Regions from separate parts of the Homo sapiens genome. Here regions 2 and 3 are each linked to region 1. The links are contacts of gene promoters, found by promoter capture Hi-C in blood cells and fetal thymus (Javierre and others, 2016). All regions are on one chromosome and are shown on one strand. The core of a region is centred on a gene start or on the middle of the fragment in contact, and the rest is flanking DNA. Distances in the headings are between cores, read along the strand shown. Region 1 holds the start of MYOZ2 (myozenin 2). Region 2 overlaps USP53 (ubiquitin specific peptidase 53). Region 3 overlaps USP53 (ubiquitin specific peptidase 53).

The links. Contacts are between HindIII fragments. The CHiCAGO score rates a contact against its expected background, and 5 or more counts as called.
Region 2: a fragment that was not itself captured here is called in contact with the fragment with the promoter of MYOZ2 in region 1 in 8 of 17 cell types (M2 macrophages, naive CD8 T cells, naive CD4 T cells and 5 more); the score reaches 8.1 in M2 macrophages.
Region 3: a fragment that was not itself captured here is called in contact with the fragment with the promoter of MYOZ2 in region 1 in 2 of 17 cell types (naive CD8 T cells and M1 macrophages); the score reaches 5.9 in naive CD8 T cells.

What each region holds. Positions count from the first base shown.
Region 1 is chr4:119,133,141-119,137,823 of GRCh38, forward strand. MYOZ2 (myozenin 2) reads left to right here and starts at 2,692. Exons shown (of 6, transcript NM_016599.5): 1 at 2,692-2,842; 2 at 3,372-3,461. The coding sequence starts at 3,386. It overlaps LOC102723967 (a long non-coding RNA gene), which reads left to right. Exons shown (of 3, transcript XR_001741422.1): 3 at 1-414. The HindIII fragment of the contact is 2,789 bases long and covers 1,583-4,371 here.
Region 2 is chr4:119,247,052-119,251,734 of GRCh38, forward strand. USP53 (ubiquitin specific peptidase 53) reads left to right here. Exons shown (of 19, transcript NM_001371395.1): 7 at 1,697-1,831. Among named protein-coding and RNA genes, the nearest start is that of USP53, 37 kb to the left of the region's middle. The HindIII fragment of the contact is 1,583 bases long and covers 2,095-3,677 here.
Region 3 is chr4:119,225,213-119,229,895 of GRCh38, forward strand. All of the region lies in intron 3 of USP53 (ubiquitin specific peptidase 53), which reads left to right. Among named protein-coding and RNA genes, the nearest start is that of USP53, 15 kb to the left of the region's middle. The HindIII fragment of the contact is 4,958 bases long and covers 1-4,624 here.

The DNA of each region.
Region 1 (4,683 bases), core at 1,442-3,941:
TCCTACCATATTGCAGAAATAATAATAGCAAAAGGAAAAAAATCATTTATTAAATTTTTACTAAGTATAAGGAATTTCTAAATTGTCCCATGTAAAATGTCCATGACTTTATGTGATAGATACTGTAATCACCATTTTACAGATGAGAAAACAGAGTTTAAAAGACTTGTCTAATAGCATACTATGGTAAAGGCTACAGCCAGGAACATACGGGCACTCAAGGGATTTTGAGAGGGAATTTAAATTTATTTGCTTTGGCAAAATTGTTTCTCATTTGATACCTAATTATACTTTCAATGCAAATGGTTTGTTTAGAAACAATTGCAATAGGTTAGCTAGATTAGCTTAAACCTGCTATCTACAACCTTTAGCTTTCTCTTTTTTTTTTTTTTTAAACAAGGTCTGGTCTTGCCCGGGCTGGAGTGCGGTGGCTTGATCATGGATTACTGCAAACTCTACCTCCTGGACTCAAGCAATCTTCCCACCCCAGCCTTTGGAGTAGCTGAGATTATAGGTGCATGCCACTCACCTGGCTAATTTTTGGGTTTTTTGTTTTTGTTTTTGCTTTTTTGGTAGAGGCAGAGTTTTGCTAGCTGGCCTAGGCTGGTCTCAAACTCCTGGGCTCAAGCGATCCACCCACCTTGGCCTCCCAAAGTGCTGTGATTTACAACCTTAAACTTTCAATCCTATGATCAGGCACCAAAATGTATAACCGATTTCAATCTTATAAAATACAATTCCTCCCACAAATAGCCACCACCTTTGTACATTCAAGCGACTGTTCATTTGAATTCCAAACTCATGCCAAACCTTTAATGCATTCTGCAGTTAATCTCCAACCTACTCATTTATTCATTCATTCAATGAATATTGAGTGCTTACCATATGCCAGATACAATTCCAACTGCTGAAGATACAAAGCCCAAGCCATTATAGGATTCATAGTTTAGTAGAAAAAAGAGATATCACATAAATAGATGCAACCTCTACCTCCTGGACTCAAGCAATCTTCCCACCCCAGCCTTCAGAGTAGCTGGGATTACAGGTGCTAGTAAAACTGTTGAGGACGCCATTTCAACCTTTAGAATTGTACATAACATAAACTTTTGCTAGATAGATAGATAGATAGATAGATAGATAGATAGATAGATAGATAGATAGATAGAATAATGTTGGCATGTTCTTAGTGAAAAAACTGAGTTGTCACTCAGCAACAATTATTTCTTTGTTAGTAAGTTATGTATGAATTTTAATTGGGCTCATGACCACCTAGAATAGAAGCTACACTTCCCAACCTTTCTTGAGTTATGTACGGCTATATGGCTAAGTTCTGCCCAATGGGATGTAAACAGAAGTATGAACAAAATATCAGACATGTTCTGAAAAGAAGACAGTGTTCCCTTCTCATTTTTTTTTCTTTTTCCTGCTGGTTGAAATATATGCATGCTGACTGGAGCTGGGGCAGCCAATTAGGCCCAAGGGGTCTGCATTTTAGGGATAGTGGAGCAAAAAGTTAGAGGGTAACTGAGCCCTTGATAATTATGTCAGTCATGCAAACCCTCAATTACTTACTTCTAGACTAAGCTTACCTGTGAGAGAAACATCTTCCATCTTTTTACAGTTCTGTTTTGGGGGGGTTTCTGTCACTCCCATTTGACTTTTATCTTAACTAATAGAAAAATATAAAGAAAATGAAGCAGAGTAAGGGACTAGAGAGTGGCACAGTGTGATATTTTAGACAAGGTGATAAGGGAAGGATTTTATGAGGGATTGTTATCTGAGCAGAGTCCTGAATGCATGACTGTGCCATGTGAGTAGAGGGAAAGTATGGAAGGGGGAAATAGTAAAAGGAATACAGTATCTATTTTCATTTTGGAAACCAAAATTAACATAATGATTATCTGTTGAGGACACCATTTCAACCAGGGAAAGGGGGAAATAGTAAAAGGAAAGGGGGAAACAGTAAAAGGAAAAGCCCAGAGATGAGAGCACGTTTTTGTGTCCAGGGACCATCAAGGAGGCCAAACCTTTTGACAGGCAAACCTTTCAAATCTTGTCAGGCCTGCAAATGAAAATCCTTGACCCTAGACATTGTAAAGACTGGTCAACTTTGCAGGGACTGGTCTCTGTAGGCCCTTCAAAAAGCATGACCCAGTTATGAGTCTCAGCTTTTACCCAGCTTCATGGCTTATCCTCTAATGGTTCATTTCAAAATGCTTCCTGAGTTCACTATTCAAATACTACATACTTTTCTCAACCTAGCATGAGTTCTCACTACAGCTTAAGAACTGGCTCTATTGATCCACCCCACATTACTTCCTTTCTTCTTGAGTCTACATAGATATTACTGCCTATATTGTTCATTTTAATTATGAAAAATCTATCATTCTGTTCTGATTCATGCATGTGTCTCTTGCCACCTCAATTAACATGTAACATAAGAGCTAGATGTTTAAAAGTGTTTAAAATCCCTTTTGGCTACTATCTGTTCAACAGAAAGTGCTCACTAAAAACTTTCTGCATGTCCAATGAACGTTTCATTTAACCATCTCACAAACTAGAAACACAATGGAGAGAGCCTAATCTTTCCCTGTTCCTCCCTTTCGCCAGGAAGATATGAGTAGCTAAAGTATTTGGTGCTATATATAGCCAGTTGATGTCAGCTGAATGCCAGTCTCTTCAGAAAAGCTCAGTCCCCAGTTTGAGTCAGAGTAGGGACCATGCTGTCCCAGGTTCAAGGATAAAAACCATCAGGCCCAAGTGCCATCCATAGTCCATCTCCAGAGTCTTCCTCCACAAACTGGGATTCATCCCCGCTGAAAAAGCACAATCTAACAGCAAGGTGAGTATGTTGTTTCCTAAAATGTTTCATTAGTCAGTTGTCCAAGGATATTCAGAGTTGTGACTCATAAATGGGCATTCTCTGCTTTAAAGGGCAGCTGTTGCCAATATTAAAATGCTACCACCAAAGAATTCTGGTTTAGTCTAGTGTCTTCTTCATTCTTACAGTTTGCTGGAATTGATGGAGTGTGATGCTGGTACAAATGAAGGCCAGTGAGGAGACAATGACAGACTAAAATACTGTGGAGAAAAGAGAGGGAGGGGAAAGGAGACCAGCAATTTCATTGTTTCTCACTGCCTGATGATCATTGTATTAATGTCCAGACTGGGTCTCTGTTCACTGTGACATTGCCTGTCAATGAATAACATACTCTGTCACCAGATAAGGAATGCGTATTGAAGTCTTTCAGTAGCAAGCGATAATAACTTTTTAATAAAGAACAAAGATGTTGTCTTTCAAAACAGTGATTATAAGACACTCCAAATGAGTTCTTCACATTGCCTCAATAATGTCCCTTTGTTTTTAACAGGGAACAAAAAAACCATGCTATCACATAATACTATGATGAAGCAGAGAAAACAGCAAGCAACAGCCATCATGAAGGAAGTCCATGGAAATGGTATCAATAAAAATCCTTCGTAGCATTAATATAGCACAGCATGAATGTGGCTCCATCCTGACGTTGTTTAATATTCCATAGTTTACTTCCTTTAGATTCTTGCTGTTCTGTCATAACAAACCTGGAGCTCTAGGGGGTGTAGAAAAGCCTATGGTAACTAATCCTTTTGTAGTCATCCTTTCTCATTTGGAAGCTATTTTCAGAGGAACAACTGCTGTAAAAGGCATGAAGCAATCTGACAGCTGATGTACATTCTGCTTGGCTTGCCTTCCACATTATAAGTTAAGATCACTCTCGATTCTTTTTTTTTTCTGGACAAGTCTCATACAATCTTGTCTTTATTGTCCATCCCACATGGTTTAGCTTGATTTCTTTTACCTTACATTATATAAATCACTCAAAATAAGTTCTATCATCTTTTTTATCAAGCTATTAAGTTGGAATTCATATTTATTGCTTATTATTTAACTCCATTTCTATTGCTTATTTATTTAACCCTTCATATTTGTTAATTGATTTACTAACATATTTTGTGTGCAAAGTCTACTTTTATTTGTAACTTCTGAGAAAATATAAAGTTATTGTAGTCTCAAAGCATATGACTCAAAAAAATTTTAATATATATTACGTGCAAGGTAATATTTCACTCTCTCCTTTTCTTTAAATTCTAGCAACTAACTTGAGAAAGCAATGCTTTATAACTTGCATTTTGATTCTTATAAAGGAAATTCAACTTTGTTTATAAGCAACGTATAGCATCAGTTTTAAATGTTAAGAAAAATATTCAGGTCCTCTTAGGAGCTGATTTGAGCCATTCCAGATATATTAGTGGCATTTTCAGAATGCCTCCTTATTTCCCCTGTATTGACAAGGAATGCAGCCTTTCACCACTACAATATTGAGACCTAGAAGCTTGAGACCCGGGAAGAGTATTGAGCATAATGTTTTCATATTACACCTTCCATAAAGCAAGAGGAACAGAATCAAAGACTTTTAGATGCTCCCCACGCAATGTAATCATAACTAAGAGGTCCGTTGTTGTTTTCTATTTTCTGCAATACAGAACCACTGTACTGGATTCAACTTGGTTCTCATGTTTTACTGTAATGTCAAATTAGCTTGGAATAAAATGAGAATAATTCTGAGTCAGATACCAGAACTGAATTCATACCAATCCAAAGTTCCAAAATTCATGCCTTATTTAAAATTTCATGCATCTTTG
Region 2 (4,683 bases), core at 1,636-4,135, 110 kb after region 1:
ATGGCCAAATAGGGTTATTGTTAGGACATGAAGAATGAACCTAGATCACATTACAGTATCACATTTTATTTATTCCACAGTAAATTTTGAATGTTTTGTCTAATTGTAAAACCTAGGATTATTAATTTCCTAGACCAACTCTCTTGTAGCCCTGCACAGTCACCTGCCTCTTTCCTGTGCTTGCCTTCCTCTCCTCCCCTGTCAAAAACACACATAAACACATTGCATTTTAGCCAAACTGGGCTCTATTTCTCAGAGCTGATCCCCACCTCAAAGTCTTCTCATTGTTATTCCTTTTGTCTGGAATGCTTTTCTTCCAGATGTCCTCATGGCTAACACCCTTATTTCCTTTATGCCTCTCCTCAAATGTTACTTTTCCATTAGTGAGGCCTTCCCCGACTACCCTAGGTAAAAGGTAAGCTGCTTCCATCTGTAATATCCCTGGCATTCCTATCCCCGTTACACTGCTTTATTTTTCTCTCTTGTATCTATTTTTCTCTACTGTACTTATCACATTCTGATGTTATATAATTACTTCTTTGCCTTCTCATTACTATAACTAGAATATAGGCTCCATGTGGGCAGGGTTGTCATCCATTTTTCTAGGGTAGAACAATGCCTAACATATACGAGGGAGGCAAAAAATATATGTTGAATCAATGAGTGACAGTCTCGCATAGGATTAAAAATCTTAAACATTACCTGGAAGTTAATTGCCTAAATAAGAGATAAAATCTGAAAGTTATTTTTCATCTTTTACTATTCATAATTTTAGCTACTATAATGGCTAAAATAATTATAGTTCTGGGTATCTAATATCAGATGACATCTGTTTTTTTATTTCTTATTTTATTTATAAATTGTATTTTTTTGCTGTAGTGAAACAGATTTGTGAAATGTTTTCTTTGTATGTTGATCTTAAAAAAATATTTTTTTTTTGAGATGACATGACCCTTTGAGCTAACATGGGACTGAATGTGACCAATACTACTTTGGTGGGCTGTCATTGAAAACTTTTCTTTCTTCCATGTAAGATGATTGTCATAAAATTGGAATTTATTAAAATGTTTTTTCTTGCTTAAGTTTAATAAGGAAAATTGAAAATCATATTAACAACTATAATCTCATATTTCCAGTTTCTTAGGTTTAGATTAGAAACTGAATGATGTTTCCAGTTTCTTAATTTAGATTAGAAATACAGGTTGGGTATCTCTTGTCTGAAATGCTCAGGACCAGCAGTGTCCTCTGAGGGTGGGACCTGGGAACCCTATATGTTTAATTCTTGTGTCTGCTAACATTTGATTTAGAGGCTGGTGCAAACATTTCTACACTTGATGATACAAATAATTAATTTTTGTATGAAATTTTAGAGCAAAAGACTTCTGTATTATTTTCCGAAATACAGGTTGGGTATCTCTTGTCTGAAATGCTCAGGACCAGCAGTGTCCTCTGAGGGTGGGACCTGGGAACCCTACATGTTTAATTCTTGTGTCTGCTAACATTTGATTTAGAGGCTGGTGCAAACATTTCTACACTTGATGATACAAATAATTAATTTTTGTATGAAATTTTAGAGCAAAAGACTTCTGTATTATTTTCCAAGTATAGTGTTTTGAGTTTCTCTGTGTTGTAATGAAATTACTGAAATGTCGTTAAAGCTGGCATTAAACTTACTGATTTTCTTGTCGATTCCCAGACGATATTTGCACAGTTCCAACACAGTCGAGAAAAAGCACTTCCCTCAGATAACATAAGGCATGCTCTTGCAGAAAGTTTCAAAGATGAGCAGCGATTTCAACTTGGCCTTATGGATGATGCTGCGGAGTGCTTTGTAAGTGTTTCTGATATTCCTTAAGAAGTCAGGATAGTAGTTTTCATTCCTTAGATGGTACAAGTGTTGAGACAAATGAAACAAAAATTTAGAACAATAGAAAAATGTCAAAACTGTCCAGTAGATCCATATCTTACCCATCCTTCAAGCCTCAACTTCAATCCATCTGTGTTTTGTGTTGTACTTTTGGTTTTGATTATTTTTGTTGCTCTAATTTTTACTCTTAGGCTACTAAAATGTTTTAAAACTTAGTTGGAGCAATAAGCTTTGCTGAATATAAATGATATCACTTAAATCAGTGTTCTGCCACTATAGGGACCACATATGCAGCACATTCCCAGCAGTAATAGTTATCATTGCATGCAATGATTCTCACTGGGAGAGAAGGGGATTTTGGTGGGATTTTGGTGGGTAACAGGGGCAACAGCCTGTTACACACATTCCAGGTTGAAAATCACTGAGGTTGATGTTCTCAGGCTCTGTGTTACCACCATATTAGTAAGTAGAGCATTCCTTTGATCAGGTACATACTTTATACATGTAAAATAGGTATGTTAATTATTAAATGTCTCATTAATATTGATGTCACCTATAATTAAGTTGTAACCATTTCTTCTCTCTTCTTTCTGTTTCTAGTCAGCAAAGTTTGTAAATTCTTTCATCAGAAACCCTTTCAGAAGTTTTTTCTTTCCGTATTAATTCCCTACCACAACTTCTTCCAGTTCAGTATATTTAAGCCTCCTATTGGTGTCCATTCAACCTGTTTATTTATGTCCTATTTTTTTTTTTTTTTTTTTTTTGAGACAGAGTCTCGGTCTGTCACCCAGGCTGGGGTGCAGTGGTGTGATCTCGGCTCACTGCAAGCTCCACCTCCTGGGTTCACACCATTCTCCTGCCTTAGCCTCCTGAGTAGCTGGGACTACAGGTGCCCGCCACCATGCCCGGCTAATTTTTTGTATTTTTAGTGGAGACAGGGTTTCACTGTGTTAGCCAGGATGGTCTCGATCTCCTGACCTCGTGATCTGCCTGCCTCAGCCTCCCAAAGTGCTGGGATTACAGGCGTGAGCCACTGCGACTGGCCTTATGTCCTATTTTTTAAATAACCACCATATCAATATGATTTTATTCAGGTTAACGCTTACTCTTCAAATATTTCTGTGATTTAAATCTAGACTTTTTATTCTGATATTTAAGGCCCTTTAGATTAAACTCCACCTTCCCTCAGTGCTTCATCCCTAGATTTTTCTTCCTAGTGAGATTATTCCATTCTGTTCCTCACATATATTTTTATATTCTTGTTTATAGTCCTTATTTATAAGGCTGTTCTACTAGCAGCCTTTGCTCAAGTTCCTGAAATACTCAAAACTTTAAAAATCTATCATTTTGTCAAGGTTCAGACTAAGTCTATGCCTACCAGATAACACATGACCAAACCACCCAATCCATTCTCTGTAGAATTTACTCTGTAGAATTCATTTGGCATTTTTATATTATTAATCACCTTTTTAAAAATGAGCATCTTCATGGTTTCCTTAGATGGAAAGCTCATTGACTAGCATCTTGCCTAGCACACTTGCATGTTGATTAAAATGTCAATAATGGCACACACAGTAATGAAATATACTTTCCATATTTCTTCTGTTTATAATTGATTTTTTGCTTAAAACAAATATATTTTGAACAATGCTAAACTTTATAGTTTTACTTTCACTTAAATGAATTATTCTAATACATGATATGATAATTCACAAAATGTCTAGAAGTCTAGGCTTAAATTATTAAATGGTCTTAAATATCCTGGGGCAGAGGAGAGAGAAGTTAGCTAATGAATAGAATCCATTGGTTAAGCTTTGGTAAAAAGAATTATGTTAAAGAAATAAATGCCCCTTATTGATCTATATTGTAAATCAATATTTATATGAAATTCACTGCAGATTGCATTGCCTGCATTATGGTGTTAGTGTAGATATAGAGCCTTTGTTTTGCTGTTATTTATACAGACTACCTAGATGATTCAAGTAGGATTTTTTTTTTTAATTATACTTTAAGTTCTGGGTTACATGTGCAGAACTTGCAGTTTTGTTACATAGGTATACACGTGGCATGATGGTTTGCTGCACCCATCAACCTGTCACCTACATTAGGTATTTCTCCTAATGTTATCCCTCCCCTAGCCCCCCACCCCCCACAGGCCTCAGTGTGTGATATTCCCCTCCCTGTGTCCATGTGTTCTCATTGTTCAACTCCCACTTATGAGTGAGAACATGTGGTGTTTGGTTTTCTGATCTTGTGACAGTTTGCTGAGAATGATGGTTTCCAGCTTCATCCATGTCACTGCAAAGGACATGAACTCATCCTTTTTTGTGGCTGCATAGTATTCCAAGGTGTATATGTGCCACATTTTCTTAATCCAGTCTATCATCGATGAACATTTGGGTTGGTTCCACGTCTTTGCTATTGTGAATAGTGCCACAATAAACATACCTGTGTATGTGTCTTTATCCTAGAATGATTTATAATCCTTTGGGTATATACCCAGTAATGGGATTGGTGGGTCAAATGGTATTTCCAGTTCTAGGTCCTTGAGGAATCTCCACACTGTCTTCCACAATGGTTGAACTAATTTACACTCCCATCGACAGTGTAAAAGCATTCCTATTTTTCTGCAACCTCTCCAGCATCTGTTGTTTCTTGACTTTTTAATGATAGAGTTTTCTAAATATACAATCATGTCATCTGCAAACAGAGACAATTTGACTTCGTCTCTTCCATTTTGAATACCCTTCATCACTTTCTCTTGCCTGATTTGACTTCATCTCTTCCTATTTGAATACCCTTTATTGCTTTCTCTT
Region 3 (4,683 bases), core at 896-3,395, 92 kb after region 1:
TTTAAAGACACAAACTATGAAAGCTCACTCAAGAAGAAAAGAAAACCTAAGTAGCCCTTTCTATCAAAGAGATTTAATTTGTGATTTAAAATATTCCCATAAAGAAAATTCTAGGCCCAGATAGTGCTACTGATGAATTCCACCAGCCTTTTAAGAAGAAATAATAGCAGGTCTACATAAACTCTTCCAGAAAATTAAAGAGGAGAAAACACTTCCAAGTTCACTTTATGAGATGATTATAACTCTAATAACAGCCAGGCGTGGTGGCTCACGCCTGTAATCCCAGCACTTTGGGAGGCCGAGGCGGGCAGATCACGAGGTCCAGAGATCAAGACCATCCTGGCTAACACGGTGAAACCCCATCTCTACTAAAAATACAAAAAATTAGCCGGGCGTGGTGGCGGGCGCCTGTAGTCCCAGCTGCTCAGGAGGCTGAGGCAGGAGAATGGCGTGAACCCGGGAGGTGGAGTGAGCTGAGATTGCGCCACTGCACTCCAGCCTGGGCGACACAGCGAGACACTGTCTCAAAAACAAAAACAAAACAAACAAAGAAAAAAAAATTCAGTAACAAAATCAGACAAAGATATCACAAGAAAACTACAGACTGAAAATCCCTCATGAATACAGATGTAAAAGTTATTTAAAATTTATTAGCAAATTAAGTCCAAAATGCATAAAAAGAATAGGTTTTGATAAATTGGCATCATCGACAGGAATACAAGGTTGATTTAACACTTGAAAATCATTGTAATATACTGCATTAAGACTCAGAATCATATAATCATCTTAGTATTTACAAAATTTAAAAGTTTTGACAAAATTCAACAACCATTTAAACTGTCAACAAATAGAATCATATAATCATCTCAGTATTTACAAAATTTAAAAAATTTTGACAAAATTCAACAACTGTTTAATATAAAAGTTTCAACAAAGTAGGAATAAAGGGGAACTTACCCAACCTGATACAGATACCTGTAAAAATCTACAGCTAACCCTACACATAAGGTTAAAGACTGAATGATTTCATCTCAGATTGGAAGCAAGATTAGTATTTCTGTTCTTACTTCTTCCTTTTGGCATTGTACAGGACGTCCTACCTACCCAGTTAAGTAGGGCAAGAACAAGATGAAAGAGGCTTACAGATTAGAAAGCAAGAAGTAAAAGTATCTAAGAAATCTATACAATAGCTCCTAGAACTAAGGTTGCAGTTTTTATTGTCAGTACAAAAAATCAATTATATTTCTGCATGTTAGTAATGAAAAATTGGAAACCAAAATTGAAAACATCATTTACTATAATGTCAAAAAAAGATGAAAAACTTAGAGATAAATTTAAAAATATATATGTATAACCTGTACACCTAAATTAGCAAAACATTTCTAAGAGAAAGAAGACCTAAAAAAATGTAGAAAGACATAATATTCCTAGATTGGAGGTCTCAATATTGTTAAGACGTTATTTATTTTTTTTGAAAGAGTGTGGTTTTGGTATAATTCTAGACATACCTGAAATATTTATAATTCATTTAAAGTAATGGCAAAAAGCACAATTACTTTTGGACCAACCTAGTAGAATAGAGAGACCAGAAATATATCTACTATGTAAGTAATCAGTTAATTTTTTGTTTTTGTTTTGAAACAAGGTCTCACACTCTGTCACCCAAGCTGAAGTGTAGTGGCACAATCACAGCTCACTGCAACCTCTACCTTCCAGGCTCACTCGATCCTCCCACCTCAGCCTCCTGAGGAGCTGGGACTATATAGGCATGTGCCACCATGCCCAGCTAATTTTTGTACTTTTGTAGATGGTTCTTACTGTGTTGCCCAAGGTGCTCTCAAACTCCTGGGCTCAAGTGATCCTCCCACCTCAGCCTCTCAAAGTACTAGGATTGCAGGCATGAGCCACTGTGCCTGGCTATAATCAATTAATTTTTGACAAAGTATTCCAAAGCAATTTAGGGAAAGCATACTCATTTTAAAAAATGGTGCTGGAAAATTAGATTTTGTTTGGACAAAATTAATCCAAAGCCTTGTCTAACACTACACACACACACACACACACACACACACACACACACACACACAAACTTGAAATGAATCATAGAGCTAACCATAAGAGCCAAAACTTTAAAACCTCTACAGGGCCGGGCGCTGTGGCTCACGCCTGTAATCCCAGCACTTTGGGAGGCCGAAGCGGGCAGATCACGAGATTGCGACCATCCTGGCTAACTGGGTGAAACCCCGACTCTACTACAAGTACAAAAAATTAGCCGGGCGTGGTGGCGGGCGCCTGTAGTCCCAGCTACTCGGGAAGCTGAGCCAGGAGAAGTGGCGTAAACCCGGGAGGCGGAGCTTGCAGTGAGCCGAGATCGCGCCACTGCACTCCAGCTTGGGAGACAGAGCGAGACTCCGTCTCAAAAAAGAAAGAAAAAAAATTGCATAGTATTCAAAAACTTAGGAAGGCACTTTGGCAATTTTCTATAAAGTTAAACATGCATTTACAATACAACCTAGCAGTCCCACTGCTAGGTATTTACAAGAGAAATGTATCCACAGAAAGACTTGTACTTGAATGTGTATAGTTACTTTATTCATAATAACCCCAAAATGGAAACAACTGCAATTAATCTCCCTTTACCAGTAGTAAAGAGATAAGCAAAAGAATATTACTCAGTAATAAGGAATGTACAACTTCTGATTTGTGCAGCAATACAGATGAAACTCAAAAGTATGAGTCCATTTATGAGAAATTCTAGAGAAGTTGAAACTAGGACAGAAAGTGTATCAGTGTTTTCTTGCAGGTTGAATGTATTAATTTTCTATTACTATGTAACAAATTACCACAACAGCTTAAAACAATGCACATTTATTATTTCACAGTGTTAGTAGGTCAGAAGTCTAGGTCGTTTTTAACTGGATTCTGTGCTCTGGATCTTACAAGAGTGGTCAAAGCATCAAATGGGCTGGCCTTTTATCTGGAGGCCCTAAGGAAGAAGAATCTGCTTCTGGGTTCATTCAGGTTGTTGGCAGAAGTATTTCCTTGTAGGAGCGAGGTTCCTGTTTCTTTGTTAGCTGTCAACCAGGATCTGTTCTCTCATGTTGAGGCCCCCTCCACCTTTAAAGCAGCAATGGCACATCAAGTCTTTCTCATGCTTCAAATCTCTCTTTTTCTGTCACCAGCCAGAGAAAGCACTCTGCTTTTAAGGATTCATGTGATTACATTAGGCCCAACCAGATAATCGCCATATTTTTAGGTCAACTGCGCCATATAACATAATGAGATAATGGAATACATATCTTGTCATATTTACAGGTTTCTATAGGGTATGAAATCTGGGGATGGGGGTGTGGGTGCACTGTGGTAGAATTCTGCCTACCACAGTGAGGAAGGTTATTGACTGTGAAGGGGCACAGGAGAGCTTCTCAGGGTGATGGAAATGTTCTATAGCTTGATTGTGGTAATGGTTACATGACTGTAGGTTTGTCAAAACTTACTGAACTGTACACTAATGGGATGAATTTTATTGATTACAACTTACACCTCCAAAGCTGGTTAACTTAAACATCCTATGTACAAAAATATTGTACGTAGGAAAATTAGCTGTCACTGAGATACTAGTGACCTCTGAATTGTTTAATTTGGATCTTACTGAACAGAAAATAGACTAAAATATAAATAGAAAAAGTAATATAAAATAGAAGGAAGAGTAAGGAAAACTACAGTTGCGTGTGTAAGTAGATTTAGATGAATAAAAGGGAGGAAGGAGTTAATTACTGGCTGTTCCTATAGACCTTCTGTTAGAGTTAGATTCCCTCTACTCTGCCTTCCTTTTTGCTACCCAGGTATTCAGCCTGGGGATTATAAATCTGAATGGTCTTAGCAACATCAGCTCTAGACCTCTGTCAGATACAATAGCAATTGCGTGCAACATAGACTGTAGTGGCTATCTGTTGTCATCCATCCAGCCATCTATATATGGTGCTATTATGTGAAATAAAGACTAAAATATTGTCCTTTTGGCTCCAGTATAATAATTACTACCATAAACCTGGTGTTTCTGATATTCTTTCAGGCTGCCACTTTTCTCACTCGCATGTCCTTTCTTTACCATTTCATCTATTCTTATGGTTTCTTATGTTTATATGTTCATGACTTGAAAATCCATTATGTCCAACCCTAAACTCTTCCCCAGGATTACCTTTTGAATCTAAATATTTACTGGGTCTCTCCCCTTGAATGTTCTGTAGAAACTCATTCATTTTATCCCAAATGGAACTCAATATTTTCTCTCAAACAAGCTCATTTTCCTATAAATACTATTTGAGTTGGTATAACAGTCCTACTACCATTCACTCTAGAAACCTGGGAACTTTCTTTACTTTCCTCTCTGCTTCATAGGTTTTGTGGACTTTACTTCTGAAAGAGTGTCATATTCATCCCCTGTTTATGCTACCACTGCCCTTGTGCAGGCCTATGTCATCTCTCCTGTGCATTCCTTCACCAGCCTCCCAATTTACCCCTTCTACTTGCAGATTAATTTACCTCAAATTCATCTTATTCATTGCCATGGTCTATTTATACCACAAGTCTGATTGTAATTTCTCTGCTTAAAACCAACAAAAGCTTTTTGCCACCTATTAGATAAAGTCCAAATTTCTTATGTGACCTTCAAGACCAGCC